Linked DNA regions of Homo sapiens: region 2 is linked to region 1. The links are contacts of gene promoters, found by promoter capture Hi-C in blood cells and fetal thymus (Javierre and others, 2016). All regions are on one chromosome and are shown on one strand. The core of a region is centred on a gene start or on the middle of the fragment in contact, and the rest is flanking DNA. Distances in the headings are between cores, read along the strand shown.

What was found. The method cuts DNA at HindIII sites, captures the fragments that hold promoters and counts their contacts. A CHiCAGO score of 5 or more calls a contact.
Region 2: a contact is called between the fragment with the promoter of MACROH2A1 here and the fragment with the promoter of HNRNPA0 in region 1, in 1 of 17 cell types (neutrophils). The highest score is 7.4, in neutrophils.

Annotation. Positions count from the first base shown.
Region 1 is chr5:137,750,977-137,757,652 of GRCh38, reverse strand. It overlaps HNRNPA0 (heterogeneous nuclear ribonucleoprotein A0), which reads left to right and starts at 3,290. Exons shown (of 1, transcript NM_006805.4): 1 at 3,290-6,676. The coding sequence starts at 3,587. The coding sequence ends at 4,504. RefSeq lists a silencer at 2,571-2,930 and enhancers at 2,558-3,249, 3,511-3,860, 4,371-4,530, 3,940-4,631. The HindIII fragment of the contact is 5,253 bases long and covers 971-6,223 here.
Region 2 is chr5:135,396,477-135,402,648 of GRCh38, reverse strand. It overlaps MACROH2A1 (macroH2A.1 histone), which reads left to right and starts at 3,418. Exons shown (of 9, transcript NM_138610.3): 1 at 3,418-3,587. RefSeq lists enhancers at 2,161-2,666, 2,667-3,172 and silencers at 3,073-3,532, 3,543-3,712, 4,023-4,082. The HindIII fragment of the contact is 9,460 bases long and covers 1-6,172 here.

The sequences.
Region 1 (6,676 bases), core at 2,041-4,540:
AAAATTGTAAATTCCTAAAGTAACAGTTTTCATAAGTTATGGTCTTTATTCCTTCAGGAGTTCATCTTTTACTGTTTTAAGATTTGGATGACTCTGAAACAGTGGTGCCATCTCAGCTAACAACAGCAGCATCTGCCTTCTGGGTTCAAGCAATTCTCCTGCTTCAGCCTCCCAAGTAGCTGGGACTACAGGCATGCGCCACCACACACGGGGTTTCAATTTGTTAGCCATGCTGGTCTTGAGCTCCTGACCTCAAGTGATCCGCCTGCCTCAGCCCCCCCACAGTGCAGGGATTACAGGCACGAGCCACTGTGCCCAGCCCATTTTCCCCTTTCTTTATTATCAATAGGCAAATCCTGACATTTGAATTTTTTTTGTAATAACAAGGTTAATAGCTTTCTACTGTCCTCTTTCATTTTTTTAATGTCATTTATCACTATCTAACATGCCATATACCACTCTTATTTGTTTATTGTCTGCTTCTTCCCACTAGAATGTAAGCATCATGAGGGCAGAGGTTTTTGTCTGTTGTTTACAGCCATATTGCCAGCACCAGGCATAGGATTCATATAATTGGATAAACTGAGCACTTACTGTGTACCAGGCATGTATACATGTTTACATGTAGAATCTTATTTAATTTTCACTACAACAGAAAGATGTTTTATTATTCCCATTTTAAGATAATAAAACTGATTACATTTTTTTAAAAGGTTAAGTAACTTAGCCAAAGTCACATAACTGAATGGTTACAGGGTAAGTGATAGATCAGACTAGTTTACCCTCAAACCTTAGCCCATCTATTTACCTTTGTTACAGTATCCAAACTACTTAACCTAAGATTCAGCACATTCCATAGTATCATTTCATAGTACCAAAGACCCTCAACCTATCTTACCTCTCACTATTTTCTATCTAAAACTGCCTGCTTCTCTCAAACTAACTGGCCCACTCCCTGTCTCTTGAAGCTTATGTTCCCTCTGGATTTTGCTCAAATAAACTCCCTACAGAAATCTTTTTTTTTTTCCTTTCCAACTTTTATTTTAGGTTCAAGGGATACGCGTGGAGGTTTGTTATGTGGGTAAATTGTTAGTCTTGGGGGTTTGGTGTATAGATAATTTTGTCACCCAAGTCATCAGCATAATACCTGATAGGTAGCTTTTTAGTCCTCACCCTCCTCCCACCCTCCATCCTTAAAAAAGACCTGATGTCTAATGTTCCCTTCTTTTGTGTCCATGTGTACTCAATGTGTAGCTCCCACTTATAAGTGAGAACTTGTGGTATTTGGTTTTCTGTTCCAGCCTTAATTTGCTTAGGATACTAACTAGTCTTTGGCTCTGAGGTTCAGTGCAACTTCCAATTCTTTCCTAAATCTTTCCTGAATACTTGAGGATACAGTGAGGAATTCCTCTTAACTTCTTCAGCGTTTACCATATGGTTTTGGAGGCTTTTGGTCACGTAATGCCTCATATTAACTATGTCCCACCCCATTTATCTTGCTTGGCACACAAAGGCTCAATAAATGGAAGCCATTGTAATTTTCTTCCATTCCCATCTGAGTGAGGGCACTAAAAGCAGTAACTTAGGGGTATATGATCTCTCTCTCTGTAAAACATTCGTCTAACCCAACATCTTTAAAAAGCTAACATTCTACTTTTGGGAGGCCGAGGCGGGCAGATCACTAGGTCACGAGTTTGAGACCATCCTGACCAACATGGTGAAATCCCGTCTCCACTAAAAATACAAACATTAGCCAGGTGTGGTGGTGCCCGCCTGTAGTCCCAGCTACTTGGGAGGCTGAGGCAGGAGAATCGCTTGAACCCGGGAGGTGGAGGTTGCAGTGAACCAAGATCGTGCCATTGCATTCCAGCTTAGGCAAGACTCCGTCTCAAAAAAAAAAAAAAAAAAGCAAAGTTAACATTCTAGGCCAGGCGCGGTGGCTCACGCCTGTAACCCAGCACTTTGGGAGGCCGAGGCAGATGGATCACCTAAGGTCAGGAGTTTGAGACCAGTCTGACCAACATGGTGAAACCCCATCTCTGCTAAAATACAAAAATTAGCCGGGTGTGGTGGTGGGCGCCTGTAATCTCAGCTACTCAGGAGGCTGAGGCAGGAGAACAGCTTGAACCCAGGAGGCGGAGGTTGCTGAGCCGAGATTGCGCCAGTGCACTACAGCCTGGGCAACAAGAGTGAAACTCCATCTCAACAACAACAAAAAAGCTAACATTCTAGTTCAAAGAAAGCAACACATAGATGATGTAAATTACACATAAAAAACCATTCACTGAGGTTAAATGAAAATGTCTGCTGGAGTGTGCCAAGGGGACCTGAAAGGGCCTCCTCTGAGAGGGCATCGTGGGAGGGCTTCAAGGAGGGCGGGAGGGTGGCAGGGAGGCAGGGATGTCGCGCCTCGTCTGGTTCCTAATGTCTGAAGTTCTTTTGGTTCCCTGTTGTCTTTCACACCGCCGCCTCGGGCTCGCTTTTGCGCAGGGCCACGTGGCAAAGTTTTAGTTTAACCGCACGTCGGGCCCACTGTAAACGGTTAATAACCGCCTTCGTGGACCAGGCCTCTGCCCTCCATCTTTGTGCGGGCGGGAGGTGGGGCGGGGACGCCAGGTGTAGCGGACAAGCGGAGAGGCGGCGGGTAGATCCGGGCCCCCAACCCCAACAGTCAAGTTTTCAAAAAGCCCGCGCGTGGCGCCCCAGACCGCATCCGTTGGGAATGGCCCCCAGCGCGCCCCCTGCTCTCTCCCCGGCAAAGCCCTGGGCGGGAGAAGGCGCGGGGGTGGTAGGCCGGCTCTGCACGCCGGGGGCGCCGGGGCAAGCGCGCACCGGGGAGCGCGCCCGTCCAACAGCTGCCGAAAACGGAAGTGGGTGCGAGGGGATCACGGTGATTGGCTGAACTCAGATGTCTCTCAAGGGGCTGGCGCGAACGCCACTGCGGAGTTGGGCGAGGGGATGAGTAAAGGGGAGGGGGAGAAACACTGGGAACAGCCGCGGTGCTAGGAGGAAATGAATCGCGGTGGTGCGCGGAGGGCAGGGAGGGACCCATGTCAAGGGACAGTGGGGCGCTCGGGAATGAAAGTGGGCTGGCAGAAGCGGAAGCGGGAGCGGCACAGGCCGCGGGCTTGAATAGACCGCGGAGGGCGGGGAGTCCGTGATCTAGAGCGGCGCTGCGGCGCGGTAGGCGGGATTAAGGGGAGCGAGGCGGGGATTGGCTGGTAGCCCTAGGCTGCCGTACGTCGGCGGTGACGCACGCCTCGGGGAGGGTGCGCGCGCGTTCAGCGGCCTCTTTGTGTGGTGCCCAGATAGGGGAGCGGAGGTGGCGGCGGCGGCGGTAGCGGTGGCCTTGGTTGTCTTCCAGTCTCCTCGGCTCGCCCTTTAGCCGGCACCGCTCCCCTTCCCTCCCCCTTCCTCTCTTCCTTCCTTCCCTCCCCTTCCCTTTTTCCCTTCCCCGTCGGTGAGCGGCGGGGGTGGCTCCAGCAACGGCTGGGCCCAAGCTGTGTAGAGGCCTTAACCAACGATAACGGCGGCGACGGCGAAACCTCGGAGCTCGCAGGGCGGGGGCAAGGCCCGGGCCTTGGAGATGGAGAATTCTCAGTTGTGTAAGCTGTTCATCGGCGGCCTCAATGTGCAGACGAGTGAGTCGGGCCTGCGCGGCCACTTTGAGGCCTTTGGGACTCTGACGGACTGCGTGGTGGTGGTGAATCCCCAGACCAAGCGCTCCCGTTGCTTTGGCTTCGTGACCTACTCCAATGTGGAGGAGGCGGACGCCGCCATGGCCGCCTCGCCCCATGCCGTGGACGGCAACACTGTGGAGCTGAAGCGGGCGGTGTCCCGGGAGGATTCGGCGCGGCCCGGTGCCCACGCCAAGGTTAAGAAGCTCTTTGTCGGAGGCCTTAAAGGAGACGTGGCTGAGGGCGACCTGATCGAGCACTTCTCGCAGTTTGGCACCGTGGAAAAGGCCGAGATTATTGCCGACAAGCAGTCCGGCAAGAAGCGTGGATTCGGCTTCGTGTATTTCCAGAATCACGACGCGGCAGACAAGGCCGCGGTGGTCAAGTTCCATCCGATTCAGGGCCATCGCGTGGAGGTGAAGAAAGCAGTCCCCAAGGAGGATATCTACTCCGGTGGGGGTGGAGGCGGCTCCCGATCCTCCCGGGGCGGCCGAGGCGGCCGGGGGCGCGGCGGTGGTCGAGACCAGAACGGCCTTTCCAAGGGCGGCGGCGGCGGTTACAACAGCTACGGTGGTTACGGCGGCGGCGGAGGCGGCGGCTACAATGCCTACGGAGGCGGCGGCGGCGGTTCGTCCTACGGTGGGAGCGACTACGGTAACGGCTTCGGCGGCTTCGGCAGCTACAGCCAGCATCAGTCCTCCTATGGGCCCATGAAGAGCGGCGGCGGCGGCGGCGGTGGAGGCAGTAGCTGGGGCGGTCGCAGTAATAGTGGACCTTACAGAGGCGGCTATGGCGGTGGGGGTGGCTATGGAGGCAGCTCCTTCTAAAAGAAAATTTAAAATGCCTGGGAGTGGCTATAGGGGTAGCTCTTTCCAACAGCCCAAGTGGGGTCAACTCCTAAGCCCCACCCCCTCACACACACCGCCTTCCCTGTTTTGCCCTTGGGGGAGCCACTTCTAAGGCTGCTTACCCTTGGGGGTGTTCCTCTATTTGCCTGCCACCTCTCTTGTCTCTCCCTCTGAAGATGGACTCGGCCCCACATACACATTTTTGTGTTACAGTCATTGATGGACTCTATTTTTTTATTATTACTTGGACCTTGGTCGTTTTTATACTAGCAAAATGTCTTGTTTTAATTTGTGTTTTTTGGGGGGAGGGAGGGAGTGAACTTGCTGATTCTGTAGCAAAACCTGGGTGGGGGTTGGGGTGGGGGGTAGTTTACTTTGTTGTAAGGACTTGATAACCTGGCTACAGCGTTTTCTATGAAATCTACTTGGATCCCATGCCTGAAATTTGGAAGCATATGTACAAAAATCATTTTTACGTTTTATTTTTAATAAATCATTGTGTTTGACCGTACATGTCTAACATTTTTTTTCTAGGATCCATTCCGTACCGTTTTTTAAGGGATATTTGTTTAAGACTTTACGTGTTAATTCTTTATTCTTGATGTGTACTTAGAGAAACTTAAGAGGTCCTGTGGTTTTTTTCCCCTCTCCTGTTGCCCTGCTAGTTGCGTGTTGAATTATATCCCTTACAGGCAAAACTTTTGAAGTGGTGGATGTGGCTTTTTAAACTCTTAAGTTTCTGTGCATCCATCTCTTGTACTAAGCGAATTGTTTATCATCTTGACATGGTTGGTCATTTCTATGACAATTTACTTCAAACTGTGTACTGTGTAGTTCTATATAGTTTGTGTTAAGCATGTCATTCATATAAACTGTTTAAAATTTTTCAGATGGCCTAGTTTCATCCCTCTTACTGGTTTGTCTGTAATGAATGGTTAAAAATAAGGGTTATATTTTACCCTCAAATGCGTTTTTGTACTTTCAGAGCAGGTTTAAACGTTTTTTTTTTTTTTTTCCTATATCCGAACTGTTGGCCTCATGGAAATCCCTTTCCCGATCTTTGTAGCACCATCTACTGGCAGAATGGCAGAGTAGCTGCGAAACAATTTGTTTAAAAACTTGCTTAAGACAATTGCATCAGATTTGGAAGTTTTGCCATCAAAATTCTTTGCAGAATTGGAAGTTAACACATTTGCTTGTAACTGAGATGGGCTTCACAGGAATGTAGTTGCCAGTTCATATCACAATAGCCCTTTCTATATGAGGTTTGAAAATGTAAACTGCTATGCATAGCTTGGGCAATAGCCCTAAATTGCTATGACAACTAATGAACCAGCTACGTATACTGGTATTTTAGGTGCAAGTTGTAAAGCAAAATATCTGTGTATTCTGCTTGGTTAACAAATGTATATTTGTAGCCCTTTCCTGCAATAGCATTCAAGTTGTTGTTTATAAGAGAAGAACAAAAGTGATAATAGGTGAAAATTGCCTTTCTGGATAGAAATAGAGAATAGCAACGTTTATGGATATCACAAATAAAGAATTCAATTCTTTACATGATTGAGTGAGAGTATGTATAACCTGGTGGGTGGGTTCAGAGTACCTTTTAATCTAGTATGCTTAACTTGATGTTAATATTTAACTTAAATATTTGACTTACATGTTGACGTTGAAGGCTCAAAGCTATACTAAGAAGCTTTCTGAAAGATTGGGCTTTAAAATAAAATAATATTTTAATATTGAACCATTTTTTAACTTCTTGTCACTGTTCAATTCCTAAGGTCTAGTTCTTGCCAGTTTTTTTTTTTTTTTTCCTGATTGGCAGGGCTTTTAAAGAAGTAAGAAGAAAGGTTAAGATTATTAGGCTAGGTTATAGCTGCTCAGTAGTCATTTTGACAAAGGGTAGCGGATGGTTGGTACAAATAGTGTTATATCCTCTATGACAAACGGGGTGGATGTTTTTACACATTGAGGTAATACATAGTCAAATCCTTTGCTCTCAAATAGTTGTACACTTTCCATACATTTCTGTCTTATTTTTTAATTCTAGTGATACACAAATTACATGTGGGCTACTTCATTTGGTAATTTGGTCCAGCTTTTTGGTGGCTGTAGAGTGGCCTCTAGGATACAGAAAATGATTCTCTGAAA
Region 2 (6,172 bases), core at 2,169-4,668, 2.4 Mb after region 1:
TTCTGATTTTAAAAGAAATTAAGACATTTTCGTGGGCCCATAAAGTCCTGGGGGCCTGAGTACTGTTTCTAATGGAGAAGCTACACCTGACAGACAAACTATGGGTATTCAGAATTGGGTGTACGTAGGGCTGAATACTCCACGAGGCACAGTTTTAATATACAATATTAATTTATTTGTCTTTATACCAGTGCAGTTGTCTTTTTAGTGGAGGAAAGGGCCCATGCAGGCAAAAATGCCTATGGCCCATGAAAGTCATAATGTGGTCCTTTGTTTGTGGTAGACATTTTCTTGAAAATGAATGAAATGAACCTGTCATTTCTAGGAAAATCACTGTGACATTATGTTGTCAGTGATAAACTTGAGCTTTCAAGCAGAAATTACAATTTTGGGAAACTCGTATCTGCCACCAAGAGCTTGACAACTTCCCAATACTCAAAAACCTTCAGATGAGATCAGTGGTGCTATTAATAGATGTGATTTTCTAATATTGTACAATGAAATGTGTTTACATTTGTAAGATCCGTATAAATCAGTGAACTGATATTTCCCAAATGATCAATGTATGATTTTACCAAATTATGCATAGCTAAAGGACCCAGTCAAGATATAAAATAGGCCAATGGATTTTAATGTATTAACTGAGTTCAAAAGTTTATTGATTTTTTTTTTCAGGTTCTACATTGCACTTAACCTTTAAGAAACGACTCCTTGCATTTTGGTGTGGTATGAAAAAAGAACATCTGTAATTATCTGAAAAGGCGATTAAAATCCTCTATTCTTTCCCATATACATATCTACATAAGGCTGAATTTTCTTCACATACTTCAAACAAAACAACATATAGTGACCGACTGAATGCAGGAGGAGGCATGAAACCAGCTATCTTCTATTACACCAGACATTCAAGAGCCGTGCAAAACTGTAAAACAATGCCACTCTTCCCACTAATTATTTTTGTTTGGAAAGTATAATTATTTTTCTAAAATACATTATTTATGTAATATAATTTCTTTCCATGTTAACATTTTTAAAATAAATTAATAAATATTTACTTTTTCTCAGTTTTTATTTCTAATAAAGCAAATATTGATAGATGTAACCTATAAAACAAAAGCTCTTCAGGGTTCTCAGTAATTTTTAAGAGGGTCAAGGGAAACCCAAACAGTTCCAGTAATGTTATTGTAGAACAACTACCCAGTAAAATGCTCATAAAGAACCATTAAGTTTAAAGTGCAGGTGACAATCACTAAATAGAGTAGAAACTCTGTATGTTTAATGTTAAGTGGATATAGATAAAAAGGCTGGAATGGGAGCAGGCTGTTCTCTCCTAGCAATGAATGTAGAGTGAGTTTTATTTTTTGAGCATTTTTATTTTTCATGTTTTCAGAATGAGCATAGCTTTGTCATTGGAAAAAAATAAAAAACCTTTAACAGAAGAAGAAGCAATAGCAGCAGCAGCAGCTGGTACCCCTCTCTGAGCCAGATTAGGGGAGGAGACAGGTCACCGAAGTGGAAGAACAGGACACACAAAGCGCAGGAGGAGAGAGGGGAGAGAAGGTGGAGGCTTCTGGAGAAGGATGAGGTCAGAGCTGCTGCACTGAACAGCTCCAGAGGACAAAGGTCCTAGTGTGTTCTATGAGAATGGCACGCTGTAGAGGGGCATGGAGGTGGGGCCGCCCCAAGATCAGCTCTTGGAGGAGTGTAGACTTTAATTCCACCTGGTGGTCCCTACAGAACGGAGAGTCCTTGCCCAAAGGCACAGAGAAGGATGGAACAACAATGTGGTGTGTGGGGGAGGGTCTCTGCACCTTTCCTGACATCTTTTCTTCGGGAGATCCTCATAGAACCATAATGCTTTGTTTTGGGACCAGAAGCATCATAAGCATCATCATTTTTCCAGCTTCATCTCCTGTTACTTTCCCCTTCACCCATTCTACTCCAACCTCACACTCGCTCTGTCTTGACTATTTTGGACACACTCCTACCCCAGCCTTTGCACTTGCTATTCCTCATGCTCGGCGCAGTTCTTCCCCAGACATCCACACGGCTTGCTCCCTCAATTTCTTCAGGCTTTAAATGTTACTTTCTCATAGAGGCCTTCTCTTGTATTTGAGCCTCACTCTTATCTCACACTTCCTATTCCCCTTCTCCGCCTTATTTTTCTCCACCCCATGGAGACCCTCTGACACATTCTCCCGTTTGTCTGTCTTTCCCCCACGAGACTGCAAACTACAGGAGGGCAGAGATTTCTGCCTGTTCTCTTGGCTGTTTCATATCCAGCACCCAAATCGATGTATGACACAAAATACGTTCTCAGTACTTAATCGAATTAACGAATGCATGAATGGCAGGTATTGGACATTGTTTTGCAAACTCTTAAAGTAAGGTGTAAAGCATCCCGGTGAGGTGGAGGTTACTGCCGCTGCGATTCCCGCGCAGCCTGAGGACTGGGGGGTGGGGGTGGGGGTCTCTAATTACCTCCATAATCCCCAGTAGCGGCACTTTAAACTTCACATCAACCCTGAGGGATGTGTATTATTATCCAAATTTAGTTCACAGCTGGATGGAGAAGTGGCTTCCGGCTCCACACTTTGGAGGGAGGGGAGTAGAGGGCAGGCCCCCATTTAAGTACCCGGGATGGGGCACCAATGCCTTCAGGCGGTAAACCAATTTAGGAAGACGTGGCGGGCTTTGTGGCGGCTCCTCCTCTTTCGGCCTGTCCGCAGTTTTTAAAAAACGTGTGTGATGATAAGGAATCACTGTCTACATTAGTAATTCCCAACTTGGGTCCGAAAGTGAACTTTTGCTGAAGCGAAGTAGCTAACCGCTTCCATGTGCAAGGCAGGTTCCAGACTTCGGGGTGAGGAGGATTAACTGAAGGACCCCAGGGGAACCGGGTGCGCAGTAATTGATCTTGGGGCAGACCAGGGCTTGGCGGTGGCCTGTATCTAAAGACAGCGGGGTCTCTGAGGCGGGGCAGGGGGGAGTTGGCATTGACTGGGGAGGGAAGAGCGATCGCTGGTAACAGCCATTGTGCCTTCCCACTGGGTTAGTGGGAAGGTTCCTAAAGATGCCGTGGCAGCGACAGTCCCGTGCTCAGAGCCAGGCACACAGTAGGCGTTCACTCGAGACGCAGAGTCTGGGACGCGCCCTGAAGAAGCTCCTCTCCAGGGGCCTGGCCCTTCCCAAGGACTGGGCTCTGGGCGTCCCCGGGGTCATGGGTCAGACCTCGCGTCCGGGGTGCGGGCTGGTGCCTGGGCGCAGAGCGGCCGGCGTCAACGGGTAGGGCGCGGGCCCGGGGTCAAGGCCGGGGCGCCGGGCGGCACGGGCGCGGAGGCCGGACGCTCGGGGCCGCGAAGGGATGTGACGAGCGGCGCGCTGTGCATTGTGGGAAGCCGGCCGCGAGGACTGGTTCCAGTTCACTCGGCAGCGGCGCCGGGCGGAGGGGGAGAGCGCGGGCCGCGCGGGCGGGAAGCGAAGAGGCGGGCGGGCCAGCGAGGAGCGCGGAGAGAAAAGGCGCGAGCGGCCAGGAGGGCTCAGGCCGAGACACCTTGCAGCTGCCGCCGCCGCCACCGAGCCGCCGCGTAAGTGCCGCGCGGGCCCCCTTGCCGCACTCCCTGTCCCCGCCGCTCGGGTCCGGCCGCGGGTGCCCGGGAGCGGCCCGGCCTGGCGCGCACCGGTGTGGTGCGGGCCGGGCTCGGGCCGCCGGGTTCGGTGTGGCCCACGCCGGGTCCTCGCGCGTGCACTACGTCCTCCCAGGCCTTGTCGGGCCGCGCGGGATTCCCTTTGGTTTTGTTCAAAAAAGAAACCTGGAAACCAACTTCTCTTCGAAACGCATCCCCCTGCCCGCGCCTGGGCGCTTTTGTGGGAAAAAAGCGGTGCTGGCGCCTACCCTGGCGACCCTTCCTGGGGCGGGCTCACGGGCCAGGCCCGAGGCCGCAGGAGGCCCCGCGGCGCTGGCTAGGCAGTCTGGGCCTGGGCACCCGGGAGCTGCTGTGAGCAGAGTTGTACTTGGTGAGGCCCCCGCCGGCCCGCGAGTTGCCGGCCCCGGCACAATAAGTCGGGCCCGAGCCCCGGGGGGCCGAGGTGTAGGCGTCTGGCTCGCTATCTGCAGGGAGGGGAAGGCGGGGGCTACTCGCGGGATTGAAGCCGGGCTGGTGCGGGGGACCGGGTTGGGGAGTGGTCCAAGGATGGGCTGGAGAGGGGCCACGGGAACCCCCGCTGCTCCCGATTGTCTCGGTATCAGCCTTTTGTTTGCTTTGTGGTAGGAAGGGTTTGCTTTTTTTAAAAGGTAACTCCGGAAGGCTGTAGGCTTCCCCGGGTGGAGAAGGCCAGCAGGAAAGAGCCTCGCTGGGGGTGGGGTGGAGTGGGGAGGTGAGTGTGCAGGATGCTGCTGGCAGTGTCACCTGACAACAGGTGTGCGACATGGCGCTCCCTACCCCCACTCCTGCAGGGGCCACAGATCACTCAAGGAGTTGGTCAGTACATTGCTTGAAAGGTTCTTTTAGACAAGATGTTAGGGGAAATGTTTCTGAGTTTCAAAGTGAGAGACTTCTGTACAAACAACTGGGACAAACCTTGAATTCAACAATTACAATGACTATAAAGGCCTTGTAAGATTTTAATGACCCAGTAAACAGCACATAAGAATAGACAATTAGAGGGGGCACTCCTGCTAGCTTCCCTCTTTTCTTCCACCTTTGTGGTTTGAGGTTTTACCGTTAAAGTAGGGGGTAAGGGAAGTGTTTTGTTCCAAAGCTCCCTGCTCCAGGGAGTCGGGCATTTTTTAACAGTCTTAGGTTTGAATGGGAGACTCGAGTTGTAAATTAGGTGGAATTCACCTACTGCAGGCCACCTTTAGGCTACTAGCCTGTTGTCAGAGGTGTTAACTCTGAAATGGACACCTCTTGCCTGCAACTGGAATTAATACCCATTGTACACATTTAACTAGAGTTGGGCAGCAGCATCTCAGTCTTGCACAAGAGACTCTCTGATGAGGATGAGTATGTTTTCAAACTTATTTTTTCTTAAACACAACAAAACTCTTGAAAGACTTCAAATTCTTCCCCCTTCTAGTTTTACAAGGAGAGAGAAATCTTTCCAGTCTGTTCTTTGGCTTCGATCTGTCACCATTGTTAATGCTGATCCCTAGATAAGGCATTAAGAGGGTTGTCTAAATGAAAATTGTTTGAGGCAGGCCTTTAGAAGGAGGCATAATTTAACTCACATTTTATTAAACTTTAAGAATTGTCTGGAACTTCACATGTGACATTCTAGTATACAACCATGCCACTGGTTTAGTTTTTACCAAATGGGCCAGTGTCAGGGAGTGACACATCTCCATCTGATGTTTCTTCTGGTCCCTGAGAGAGGCGAACTTGAGGAGCGCCTCGCATTCCTTCCCCACTGAGAAGCTCAGAGGGCATGTGTTCTGGGACCTGCCTTCAGAGCTAATGCGGCCCCAAGTCACCTAAAGGAGATTTATTTAAATAAAAGCATAAACTGAAAACCTCAAGCCGAAGAACCCAACAAGACTCTATATGTGTTGTTCATCAGAACTGCAACAGCCTCTGGTTTTATTTGAGTGTCCCCAAGGATTTGTGACAGCCTTTTCAGAGCCCCATTCCTAGAACATGGGCTGGGAAGGGGCAGGAGTGATTGGGGCCCAGATCTCTGTGGGTCCTTCCCATATTCTGTAGGTTTAGAGGTCTTTTGGGCCCTGCCTCAGTGCTTACAAGTGAGCCTGAGTGAGTCAACTCTTCATTCCAAAGAGTTGTATAGCTTGTTTGCTTGGACCAAACCTGTCAGGTCAGTGTCTCAGAGTCTTTCCATAAAGATTTCCTGAGAATCAGCTCCTGTTCAGGCACTGGGGACACAGCCGTGATTAAGAAATGCCTAGCCCCTACCTTGGGGGAGCTGACTTTGGGAGAAGGCAGGCAAGTAGCTGTTGTAAAATCAGTGCAAAAGGCCCCACGTAGCCCCCCAGCAGGTACAGTAACCTAGCCAGGAGTGAGCCCTTATCTGGCTTGGAAAGGTCAAGCAGGAGATGGCTGGGCAAAGGAGGGCAGATGGGGACAAGTGTTTGAGGCCTGGGGAACCCCATGTGTGCATCTTAGAAGAAAAGAACAGAGGTCATGTGGGGAACTGCCAGAGGCTCGGGATGGCTGAG